Regions from separate parts of the Homo sapiens genome. Here all the other regions are linked to region 3. Evidence: promoter capture Hi-C in 16 types of primary human blood cells and fetal thymus (Javierre and others, 2016). All regions are on one chromosome and are shown on one strand. The core of a region is centred on a gene start or on the middle of the fragment in contact, and the rest is flanking DNA. Distances in the headings are between cores, read along the strand shown. Region 1 overlaps RAB3GAP2 (RAB3 GTPase activating non-catalytic protein subunit 2). Region 2 holds the start of BPNT1 (3'(2'), 5'-bisphosphate nucleotidase 1). Region 3 holds the start of MTARC2 (mitochondrial amidoxime reducing component 2).

Region 1 (4,348 bases), core at 1,506-4,005, 520 kb before region 3:
CGGGTTCAAGCAGTTCTCCTCCCTTAGTCTCCAAAGTAGCTGGGATTACAGGCATGTGCCAACACACCTGGCCAATTTTTGTATTTTTAGTTAGAGACAGGGTTTTGCCACGTTGGCCAGACTGGTCTCGTACTCCTGACCTCAAGTGATCTGACCGCCTCAGCCTTCCAAAGTGCTGGGATTACAGGCGTGAGCCACCGCGCCTGGCCTCTATAATTGTTTTTATAATTATAACGCCTTGACACACTGTAAGTTGACTTCAAGACATTCCACTTCTTCCAAACCTGGTTCCTTCTTTAATGTGGATAAGACTCAGACTCTCAGAGGAGGTAGGTTTTGAGCTTGGTATCTGTTCCTAATAAGAGAGAGTAAAAGGTTCTCTTTCCACTCCTTTACATTCTAACTAGGCAACTAGAGCATATACTTTTACATTTCACACATCTGCCAAAATTTATTCTAATTCTTGCCTCTGGAGCTGGTTATAGTTCTGGAGTTGTTCATAATCATAGATGGTAGTAGAAATAAGAGTCTCTTACTTCAGCTGAGTAGATTTCTAATAGTCCTGGTATAAAACATTTTGCTCAGCAAAACTTCATAATAGTGCTATATATGGAAAGTTCTGGTTGATGCTGCTGTTCAAGGGAGAGGTCACAGTCCTTACCCTGACCATAGTGCCGTTTTTGTTCCCACCCACCAGTCTCCTTTAGCAAAGATGTCTTTTAAGGAAAGGATCCAAATTCAAAGAGGCTCTCTTGAACAACCAGGATAACTTGAACAACTAGATAACCTCTGAACTTCATTGTACCTGCCTACCTTTACTGTCACCCAAATGCATTCTCCCTCACCATGTACACATGACCCATGACAAGGTACAGGGGTTCAAAAATGGATAATAAGAACAGCTAGAAATAATTGGTACACCCAAAATGGTTGTGAATGAGGTCTATCAACAATTTTCACTTGCTGTGTTTGTCAAGTCACAGTATGAGCAAATCTATCAAGACAAAGAACACCAAGCTACTCTCATCCATTAGGGCCATTTGTAAATATTCCGATTTTATCCAAATGAAGAAATGTTCTACATGTCAGTATTTTTATGTGTTTTTAGAATGAGTAGAAGCATCTTTCAGCTTTTAACTACATTGTTTAAAAGATCCTTACATTTATCCCTGGAGATCCCTCGATTTAGGTTATCCCTAGATTTAGTATATCCTTGCTGAAAAAAGAAGACATGCTTTACAGGTCAGATATAAAGGAAATGTGTTAACACTTATGCATTCTAACTATGCTATCATTGTCCACGTCACTCAGAATCAGCTGCAATAGTGGCACATCAAAATGAAATACTGCAAAATAAAGAGGCACACGACCCTCATGAGTATGAGAAATACAGCTAATTAAGAAGAAAATAAAAGAATAATATAGCTAATTAAGAAAAAAATACAAGGAAAACTAACTGCATCTATTCCACAGAGCAGCCAAGGTGAGCTTGAAAAACCAGAAATCAGATAATGTGGTTTCTGATCATGTTTAGAATAAATTCCAAATTTATAAAGCCTTATATCAGGCCTACTTGCTTCTCTGACCCCATTGCATAGCACATTTTCCTTCTTTTCTACTCATTAGGTTATAATGCCATAAAGCGGCACACCCTTAGGAAGGCACATTTTAGATGAGCCAAAAAGCAAGTCTGTGGCACATTATGACTAAACTAACCCAATTAATACTATCAGGGAAGAATTAGTAGATATCTTTAAGGACAACTTGCCTCACACACAAATGCCTAACTATGTCATTCACAAATATTAACAAAAATCCATTACAGAAAAAGCCAAGTATGTATCAGTGGGCTCATTAAGATGTGGCCATCTGGGTCTGAAATATTATACTATAGCTCAGCACCAGCACTATTCTATATATGTAATAATAACTGTCACACTGGAACCTCTTCTGAAATTATAAATGCATGTGTCCACTTTAGTATGCAATGCCTGTGAGGTTTATTCCAGAAAACCTCAAACTTACTTGGAAGTCTCTTACGTTATTCATAGTGGTAACTTAGCTACATGATTTCAGAAAGCAAATACTAAAAGTCTACCAAATAGCACATGTAAGGTAAGTGCCATTTACACTATCTCTTTCTGGGAAATTCTCCAAGCACATCCCTTTCTGAAAGGTTACTTTCCTAGAATCATGAAGAATCTCCAAGCTTGTTTACACAAACCCCCTCCTTTCCTTCCCTCCCCTCCTCATTCTTGCCATAGCGAATTAAACTGCTGATGAATGCCTGACCAGGAGGCAGCAATAATATAGCTGCTGATGTCCCATGAAGTGGCCTGGTGTAAACAGTATGTCCCCCTCCCCAAATATCCTATATTAGGTTGTAATCCACAGACTCAGTAAAATCTTCACATGAGCTCTGAATGTGAAACAAAGAAGGAGAAATAATCTAAGACAACCACAAACAAGAGACATAGCAAAAGCCATGCAATAGTTTAAATCCGGAGTAAGCAGCAACCAGTCAGTCTTAGGAAAAGCAGAATAGCTGAGGCTCCATTTTGACATAGCATTAGAAAGAGGACCAGGTGTTGTTCGCGGAGGTGCTGCAGTAACCAAATTCCCTGAGCTGCATTTTATCCTATTCAACACATCCTAATTCTCCTAGAGGTCTTCTGAAATGGTTTCCTGTTCTTAATCTCCTCATGGAGTTTTTCCATACATCTCTATTACATGAGCATATCTCTACTTCTTAGCACATGATGCTCTCTGATTTCTCTGCCAAAGCTGTTCTTTTCCTCATCCTCCCCAACTGGGTATGACACAACATCCCTCCAGTTATTCAAGCCAAATATCTGGCAGGGTTTTTTAAAAACTTCTTATTATGGATATTTAAAAATATTAACAAAAGTAAAGAGAATGGCATCTATTACTCACCTTTTGAGAATATCAACCTTTCAACAATCGTGTTTTATCTATTTCACACCACACCCCAGATCAAAGAATTTATTATTGATTTATCACCTTCCTCTCATCCTTCATAACCAGCTCACTGGAAAGTCTTATCATTACCTCTGAAAATTATCCAGAATTCATCCATTTCTCATCTTCACTAATACCACCTTAATCAAAGCCACAATCATCTCTCAACTAAGCTACTGCAACAGCCTTGTAATTGGTCTTCCTGCTTCTACTTTTGCTCCCTACTTCAACCTATTCCATAGAGCAGCCAAGGTGAGCTGTCAAAGTCAGAAATCAGGTAAGTGTGGTTTTCCATTGCATTTAGAATAAACACCAAATTCACAAAGCTTGACATCTGGCCTGCTTTCTTCTCTGCCCCATCTTGGAACAGTCTCAGTCCTGCTACATCACACTGGCCTTCTTTATGTCCCTTCAAACTCTCAAGCCCATTCCTGCCTTGAGACTTTGCATGAGCTGCTGCCCTGGCCTAGAATCCTGTCAGATTCTCATGTTGTTGACTCCCTGTTGCCTTTTAGATCTCAGTTTAACTGTCACAGCCTCTGAAAAAACTTCCTTAACCACCCAATCTATAGCAGTCACTTGCTATCACATTACCATTTGAATTATTTTTCATCCATCTTTCTTTTTTATGTCTCCCTCTCATAGAGTGTAAGCTCCCAGAAATAGGACTGTAAGAAGACCTATCTAATATTCATTCTTCTTTCTTAAAAAAAAAATCCTGATTTTGTTCAGGTATCAACTCCTTCCGTGTGGCCATGGGCCTCAGGAGAAGCTGACCCTCTTATCCTCTAACTCCAGGGAATAATATGATTCAACAATGAATATCTCATATCCCTTGCCAGTGATTAGTTCAGAAATGAGCATGTGGCCCAATCCTGGCCAAGAAGACATAAGGAAAAGTTTGCTAGAGACGTCTAAGAAAGTAGCTCCCTAACTCCTGAAAGAGTCATGAAAAGCCCAAGTCTTTTTCTCCCTCTACCCATTAATGAAGAAACATGTTGTCCACACTACATCTGTGAATGAAACAGGCATTAGGATGAAGCCAACACTGCATATACAAAGTAGACAGAATGAAATAACTTGACATATTTGAATTGCCTGATCAACCAACCCAGGATTCCATTCTATCTTTGGACTTCCTTCTATGTAAGCGAATAAATTTTCTTCATATTTAAGCCAATTAAAGTTAGATTTTTTTATTACTCATATGTGAAAATATACTAACATATATAGGAACTTTGTCTGCCTTGTTCCTTGCTATACTCCCAGCATCTAGAAAAATGCGTAGAATATGGTAGGTACAGCAAATATTTGAGTGAATAGTGAAAGAATATAAAAGAATAATTTATGAAAGATAAAGAATCCTAAA
Region 2 (4,413 bases), core at 1,272-3,771, 660 kb before region 3:
ATAAAACTAAGAGTTGCTGGGCGCGGTGGCCTGTAATCCCAGCACTTCGGGAGGCCAAGTCGGGCGGATGACGAGGTCAGGAGTTCAAGACCAGCCTGACCAACTTGGTGAAACCCTGTCTCTACTAAAAATACAAAAATTAGCCGGGCTTGGTGGCACGCGCCTGTAATCCCAGCTACTCAGGAGGCTGAGGCAGGAGAATTGCTTGAACCTGGGAGGTAGAAGTTGCAGTGAGCTGAGATCATTTGCACCATTGCACTCCAGCCTGGGTGACAGAGCGAGATTCCGTCTCAAAATCAATCAATCAATAAATAAAAATAAAATTAAAACTTCTACATGGCCAAAATACCATAAACTAAATAAACAGGTACTTGACAAAATGAGAAAAAAATATTGTATCACATACCAGACAAATGACTTAATTTGTAAAAGATCAGTATATAAAAGCTGAATAATCCAATAGAAAAATGAGCAAATAAACAAGAACGGGCAACACCTACAAAGAGAAAAGCACTGGCCATTAAATACATAAATACTCAGCTTCACTAATTATGAAAGAAATGCAAACTAAAACAATGAGAAATGATTATTTTATTTTTAATTAATTAATTAATTTATTTATTTTTTGAGACAGAGTTTTTGCTCTTGTTGCCCAGGCTGGAGTGCAATGGCGAGATCTTGGCTCACCGCAACCTCTGCCTCCCGGGTTTAAGCGATTCTCCTGCCTCAGCCTCCCGAGTAGCTGGGATTACAGGCAAGCATCTCCACACCTGGCTAATTTTGTATTTTTAGTAGAGACAGGGTTTCTCCATGTTGGTCAGGCTGGTCTCGAACTTCCGACCTCATGGCCTGCCTAAGCCTCCCAAAGTGCTAGGATTACAGGCGTGAGCCACCGCGCCGGGCCATGATTGTTTATTTTTAAGATTGGCATAGAAAAGAAAATTTGGCAGGGCACGGTGGCTCACACCTGTAATCCCAGCACTTTGGGAGGCCAAGGCAGGTGAATCACCTGAAGTTAGGAGTTCAAGACTAGCCTGGCCAACATGGTGAAACCCCATCTCTACTAAAAATACAAAAATTAACCAGGCATAGTAATACAAAAATTACTCAGGAGGCTGAGGCAGGAAAATTGCTTGAACATAGGAGGCAGAGGTTGTGGTGAGCCGAGATCGCGCCACTGCAGTCCAGCCTGGGCGACAGAGACTCCGACTCAAAAAAAAAAAAAAAAAAAAAAATTGTCGCTGAATGCAGTGGCTCACACCCGTAATCCTAGAACTTTTTGGGAGGCCAAGGCTGGTGTATTGCTTGAGCTCAGGAGTTCGAGACCAGCCTGGGCAACATGGCAAAACCTCGTCTCTACAAAAAAATGCAAAAATTAGATGGTGTGGTGGCACATGCCTGTAGTCCCAGCTGCTCGGGAGGCTGAGGTGGGAGAATCACCAGACCCTGGGAGGTCAAGGTTGCAGTGAGACATAATGGCACCACTGTACTCCAGCCTGGGGGACAGAGCTAGAACCTGTCTTAAAAAAAAAAAAAAAAGAAAGAAAGAAAGGCTGGGCGCGGTGGCTCACGCCTGTAATCCCAGCACTTTGGGAGGCCGAGACGGGCAGATCACGAGGTCAGGAGATCGAAACCATCCTGACTAACACGGTGAAACCCCGTCTCTACTAAAAATACAAAAAAAATTAGCCAGGCTTGGTGGTGGGCGCCTGTAGTCCCAGCTACTCGGGAGGCTGAGGCAGGAGAATGGCGTGAACCTGGGAGGTGGAGCTTGCAGTGAGCCGAGATTGCACCACTGCACTCAAGCCTGGGCGACAGAGCGAGACTCCGTCTCGAAAAAAAAAAAAAAAAAAAAAAAAGAAGGAGGAGGAAGGAGGAGGAAGAAGAAGAAGAAAAAAGAAGAAAGAAGAAGAGTTTGTCCTTTGTCCAGTTTGCAAGGGTGTGAGGGAACATGTTCCTGAGCATTGTTGGCAAAGCGGTGAACCCTCTTAGGAGAGTTTTGAGAACCTTAATAAAAGTATAAAGTACGTATCTTTTGAACCAACAATTATATTTACAGAGAAATCCAAATAAATCACGCAAACCTATAAATATGTAGAAATGGCAGTTGGAAGAATATTTGCTGTTTAAAGAAATTTAATTTTAGGTACCAAGCAGTTTCTAAATTTGGGTGCATCAACAAACTCAATGTCTAGGTTTGTCTTGTTTCTACAGTATATGGCTATAAAAACCTTCCGGATCACGAAAATAAAAGCACAGATAAACAATTAAAATATCGACACTCAAGAGTCCAAGTCGGAAGTTAGAATATCTGGAGAAGCAATCTGATTCACATAAACCTTTTTCGTTTTATTTTTTTAACATAAATCCTATCTACCTGGCTCTTGCCCTGACCGGCCGGAGAGAAACGGTGACAAACCTGGAACAACGTTGGACCAAAGACACTTCAGGAGGAGCAAAAGCGCGTTATCGTAGACCCAGGTCCCTCGTTGTGTCCAGTACCGAGCTTTGGCACTGTCAATAAGTCTTTTGAGAAGGATGGCATCCCTACCTCAGCTACTGAGCATGCGGGAAACTGCGCGCAAGCGCACAACAGCGATTTCACACTGCCTCTTTAGACTCCTGATCCGCGGGAAAATTCCACTTGTCCGTGTTTTCTCCAAGCTCTCCGTAGGTGCAAGTCACCTGTTGCATTAAATAAAAGCGAAAGATGTGTCAACTTTCAAAGATTGGCTAAAAAAAGAAAAAGAAGAAGGAAAGAACACATTAAGCCAGCAACAGTGTGTTGAAACAAAAAAAAGATTGGTTTTGGTTTCAGCTGTCTTCCAGCCCACTTCGTAGAGTTCACTGTTTTAAAATGTTCTTTGTATTAGTGATACCACTCTGCGGCTATTTAACTTCGAACCCCTAGCGGTCCGTGGACAGGCTTCAGCAGGTCCACCACACACACCTCCACCTCCCACTCCCCACGCAATAACACAGCAACTTTATGCAGAATTGTGTCAAAGATGCTTGCTTACCTTTTTTTTTTTTTTTTTTTTTTTTTTTTTAAGCGATAGATAGCTTGCTCTGTCGCCCAGAGTCGATTACGGCTCACTGCTGCCTTCCCACTTCTAGGCTCAAGCCATCCTCCCGCCTCAGCCTTCCGTGTAGCTGGGACTACTGGTGGAGGTGCGCGCCACCACACCCAGCTAATTAAAATATTTTTTGTGTACAGATGGGATCTTTTACTGGGGGGCGTGGTTGGGGAAGGGGGCAGTGTCTCATCCTGTCGCCCAGGCTGGAGTGCAGTGGCGCAGTCTAGGTTCACTACAACCTCCTCCTCCTGGGTTCAAGCGATCCTTCCTCCTTAGCCTCCCAAGTAGCTAGGACTACAGGCGCGCCACCACGCCGGGCTAATTTTGTTTGTTTTTTAAGTAGAGACGGGGTTTCATCATATTGGCCAGGCTGGTCTTGAACTCCTGACCCCAGGTGATCTGCTCACCTCGGCCTCCCAAAGTGCTGGGATTACAGGTGTGAGCCACTGCGCCCAGCTTAAAAAGGCTTTTACGTCTTCATTTGATTTTCACAATAACTCTGTGAGTTAAGTAGACCCTTTTTGGGAAGTGGAAAAATATACATAACTTAAATTATATTACTTTAACCATATATATATATATATATATATATATATATATATATATACACACACACACACACACACATATATACATATATATATTTTTTGAGACGGCGTCTTACTCTGTCGCCCAGGCTGGAGTGCAATGGCTTGATCTCGGCTCACTGCAACCTCTGCCTCCCAGGGTTCAAGCTATTCTCCTGCTTCAGCCTCCTGAGTAACTGGGACTACAGGCGCACACCACCCAGCCCAGCTAGTTTTTGCATTTTTTTTTTTTTTAGTAAAGACGGGGTTTCACCATGTTGGCCAGGCTGGTCTCGAACTCCTGACCTCATGATCCGCCCGCCTCGGCCTCCCAAAGTGCTGAGATTACAGGCATGAGCCACTGCACCTGGCCATACTTTGGTTTTTATAATTAAATTGTATAATTACATGACAAGTACAAATGGCTTAAATAAAGACAAACATAATGCAAGGTAAGCTCAACAAGTGAGAATAGAAATCTGCAGTCATCCTAAAGAGTAGCCATCTCCCAAGTGTTCATTGTATCCTCTCATAGGTTTTACGAGAAAACGGCATAGTTGAATTCAGCAAGTTATGTAGAGGTTGGTTAGGAGAGTTTCTATGTAAATATATCTTTGTGCTCCTGGAAGACTATAGCTGTGATAGATCCCAGATGTGAAACCGTGGGTCAAAGATGAAGTGCATTTTATTTTATTTTTTGGAGATGGAGTCTCGCTCTGTCGCCCAGGCTGGTGTGCAGTGGCCTGATTTCTCACTGCAACCTGTGCCTC
Region 3 (3,862 bases), core at 1,363-3,862:
AGTGGCGCGATCTCGGCTCACTGAAAGCTCCGCCTCCTGGGTTCACACCATTCTCCTGCCTCAGCCTCCCAAGTAGCTGGGACTACAGATGCCCACCACCATGCCTGGCTAATTTTTTGTATTTTTAGTAGAGACGGGGTTTCACTATGTGAGCCAGGATGGTCTCGATATCCTGACCTCCTGATCCGCCCACCTCGGCCTCCCAAAGTGCTGGGATTACAGGTGTGAGCCACTGTGCCCAGCTTCTCTTGAATTCTTAATCTCTGAGAATGGTACCCCCATCCCACCCCAGACTTTTATGCCACAGAGCCAGGAGGCCCCGTGGGCTCTTCCTCTCCCTCTGGCTCTGTGTTCTGTCATCACTATCTCTTGTTAATTCTGTCCCCTGACCATCTCTCCTAACCACATGTCTATCTCCAGCCCCACTGTTATTTTTCCTTGATTTGGAATTACATCAGCCTGAACTAGGGCATTTGCAACTCATCTAACCATCTTTGGTGTTACTCTTTCTCAGAGCAGCCAGAATGGCCTTCCTAGCACCCAAGTCTAATCATGCCAGACTGTTGTTCAGAATTCTGAGGTGTCTCCACATTAAGTAGAGATAAGATGCCTGTTGATCTGACCTCTGCCCACCTGTCCTGCCTCAACTCCCGCCACCTGCTGCATGCACAGGTACATCCTAATACAGCTGGATTGCTGGTGGTTGCCCAAACATGCCACACTCTCTTGTTCCTTCCATTTTTTCAGGCTATTGCACGTGCTGCTCCTTTTGCCCAGAATCCTCTCCTTTACCCATCTCCAAGCCCCTCCTCATGTTCAAGTCTCAGCTCCAAAGCTCCGCCCTCTGAAAACAGCACTGTCCTGAGATTCAGCTGCTCTTTTGCCTCTGCATCCTCTGCATCTTGACCTTGCTTCTCCTCTGACATTATCCTCTAGACTTGCAGGGGAGGTGTCAGTCTTCTGGGGAGTCAGTGAACTGGATGGAAGGGCAGCTTCTTCTAAACTTTAAATCCCCAGTGCCAATCTAGGACGAAGCCTGGTGAATGATCAATATCTATGTGGTGAAAGAAAGAGATGATTAATCAATAAGACATTTGCCCTGTCTGGGAGCTCACGTATAGCGAGGCGATGGCTTTGTAAGCCCCTCACTCTGACAGCAGGCTTGTGGGCAGGGAGGACTCTGACCCTCCTCAGGAGTTGGGAGAGGCAAAGGGGGTCAGCTACAAGTGTACACACATCACATTCACCACACCATGCTTAAAAAACAAATCCATAAGTCGCAGCTGCCAAGCATGATGTAAATGTATGGGGATTGAGGGACTAATTCTGCTGGCCTGAGGTTTTTTCCTGGGTGGGGAGAGATTCAGGCCCTGTTTTGTCTTTCACTTTTCACAAGGAACAGCCAAAGGGAACCTGGCTCCTCTGGTTCTCCATCCTTCCCGGAGTCTCTTCCCACACTCCAGAACGGGCCCCTTTCTCTGGAGGTGGCCAGCCCAGATTTGGGGGGTGGCCCACTGGTTGGCCTCCTTAAACTTTCCTAGAACTGTGCCACAGTTTAAGGGACAAACTTTTGAAAAACAGAACAACAACAAAAAACTTGAAAGACTTCAAACCTTAATTTGTCTGAGAAAATCCACTGTTAACCCAATAGCTTGCTTGAATGGAGGTGTTAAAGATCAACAAAGCCAGACATTAGTTAAACCATGAAAACAGATTTTACTCAGTAACTACTTACAGTAGGAGAAAAAGCTGATCATTCTCATTTGTGCATAGCAGAATGGGCGTTTTAAAGGGTGAAGGAGAGAATAGGGCCGGGAAGCTAGCAGGGGATCAAGTGAAAAATCATGAAGGGGCGGTCAGTATTAATGACGGGCAGCTGTGCCTGGAGCTGGCCGTTATGAAGCTGGGATTCTATCCTCCCACAGAGACTGGGGGACAGAGGCCTATCCTCCCCATGACTGCATTTCAGAGCAATGGCTTTCAGGTCCTTGAGAAAGACACTTCTGAGGTGTAGGCGATACATATACATCTCAAAGCAACAGAGAAAGGATTCACAGTTGTAAGCCCTTTTAAGAAAATATCCTAAAAAAGGGAGGTCAGGGGCTTTACCATCGGGTGTTGGCTAGAATAAACGGGGAATTCTCCTGGCTGCCTTGAGCTTTCTCGGGAAGACATTTTACTGGGGTCGAGGTTAGGCGGCAGCGGAGGGTGGGGGACCTTGAGTCATGCTCCTATAAGCCACGCTAGAGTTCCTCGTCTTTGAGTGCAGAGGTTTAGACTGTGTCTTTGTGTGCAGAAAGTCCTGCAGTTCTCACAGCGACCTGCCAGAAAAAGTCGTTCCCAAATGTTTGTAAATCCTCCGTTGGGCAACCCGCCTTCACGTTCTGCGGTGATCTTGTCGAGCGACTAAGCGTGCAGTATTAGCAGAGAAGGGGGTGGCAGAGTGCTGGCGCTGAAGGTCATGTTGCATGGGTAACTGTCGTGTTGTAGGGGCGGGGAAGAGGGAGGAGACACTGACCACCCCAGAGGCCGCCCCATTAGCTCGCTTGCTTTGGGCGGCGTCGCTCCCACGGCGCCCAGGGTACCCCCGCCGCTGTCTGCCTGTCTTCCTCCATTACCGCGCAGGCTTGGTCACCGCATTAAGGCATTCCCGCTCTCCGCGGAACTGCTCTGCCGTCTCGGCGGTGAAAGTGTGAGAGGGTCCGTAGTTGGGTCAACTTTGACTCCTCTCGCCTGCCCGGATCCTTAAGGGCCTCCTCGTCCTCCCGGTCTCCGGTCGCTGCCGGGTCTGTGCGCCGGTCCGCGCCCGCCCTCGCTCTGCCATGGGCGCTTCCAGCTCCTCCGCGCTGGCCCGCCTCGGCCTCCCAGCCCGGCCCTGGCCCAGGTGGCTCGGGGTCGCCGCGCTAGGACTGGCCGCCGTGGCCCTGGGGACTGTCGCCTGGCGCCGCGCATGGCCCAGGCGGCGCCGGCGGCTGCAGCAGGTGGGCACCGTGGCGAAGCTCTGGATCTACCCGGTGAAATCCTGCAAAGGGGTGCCGGTGAGCGAGGCTGAGTGCACGGCCATGGGGCTGCGCAGCGGCAACCTGCGGGACAGGTACAGCACAGCGCGGGCGCGGGGCAGCGCGGAGCCTGCCTGGGATGAGGAGCGGGGGGGCAGGTGGGGCCCGATCTATCTGGGAAGGACTATAGAGGTTTGCCACCTGAGTTTCTGGGCTGACTGTTGGGCCGTTGGTCGTTTATCTGGGAAGGCCAAGTTCATGCCAGGTTTATTTTTGGTAAAGTAGGTAGGGGCAATCCCTTGCCCTTCCCTAGACGAGAGATTCCTCCTCTGTAACAGGAGGGGGTCTGACCTGTATCTCCAAGTCTCCTTAGCTCTAAAGTTTGTGATTCTATCCTAGTATACCAAAGTAGAAAAATAAAGCTATTGGCACTAGAAAGCAGCAAGAAAGAAACCAAGTGTTGTTCAAGGACATTGGCTTAGGCCTTGCTGGGCCTTGTTCCTCACATTTCTCCAATCCTGGGGGTGCCCTGGAGGCCTGATACACTTTGATGAAGGATGAGCAAGTGGCATGGGGACTCTGGGGCAGAGGTGATACTTGCCATTAAGGGAATAGTGTCCCCCCTTCTCCCATAGGCAGAGTTGTTCACAGCCTGGAACTTTGGGACTTTTGGGCCTGACACATAGACATTTCATACTTAGGATTAAGATGCCTTCTTCTTTTTTTTTTTTTTTTTTTTTGAGACAGAATCTCACTTCGTAGCTCAGGCTGGAGTGCAGTGGCACTATCTCAGCTCACTGCAACCTCCATCTCCCAAGTTCAAGCAATTCTCCTGCCTCAGCCTCCCAAGTAGCTGAGATTAC

Evidence for each region. Contacts are between HindIII fragments. The CHiCAGO score rates a contact against its expected background, and 5 or more counts as called.
Region 1: a fragment that was not itself captured here is called in contact with the fragment with the promoter of MTARC2 in region 3 in 2 of 17 cell types (M1 macrophages and M0 macrophages); the score reaches 5.6 in M1 macrophages.
Region 2: the fragment with the promoter of BPNT1 here is called in contact with the fragment with the promoter of MTARC2 in region 3 in 1 of 17 cell types (neutrophils); the score reaches 6.3 in neutrophils.

The regions. Positions count from the first base shown.
Region 1 is chr1:220,227,844-220,232,191 of GRCh38, forward strand. The region is part of intron 2 of RAB3GAP2 (RAB3 GTPase activating non-catalytic protein subunit 2); the gene reads right to left. Among named protein-coding and RNA genes, the nearest start is that of SNORA36B, 29 kb to the left of the region's middle. The HindIII fragment of the contact is 1,096 bases long and covers 2,208-3,303 here.
Region 2 is chr1:220,087,267-220,091,679 of GRCh38, forward strand. It overlaps BPNT1 (3'(2'), 5'-bisphosphate nucleotidase 1), which reads right to left and starts at 2,522. Exons shown (of 9, transcript NM_006085.6): 1 at 2,420-2,522. RefSeq lists an enhancer at 2,633-2,822. The HindIII fragment of the contact is 18,631 bases long and covers 1-4,413 here.
Region 3 is chr1:220,745,710-220,749,571 of GRCh38, forward strand. It overlaps MTARC2 (mitochondrial amidoxime reducing component 2), which reads left to right and starts at 2,613. Exons shown (of 8, transcript NM_017898.5): 1 at 2,613-3,094. The coding sequence starts at 2,823. LOC124904516 (a long non-coding RNA gene) reads right to left here and starts at 3,106. Exons shown (of 2, transcript XR_007066884.1): 1 at 2,110-3,106; 2 at 1-1,054. The HindIII fragment of the contact is 9,208 bases long and covers 1-3,862 here.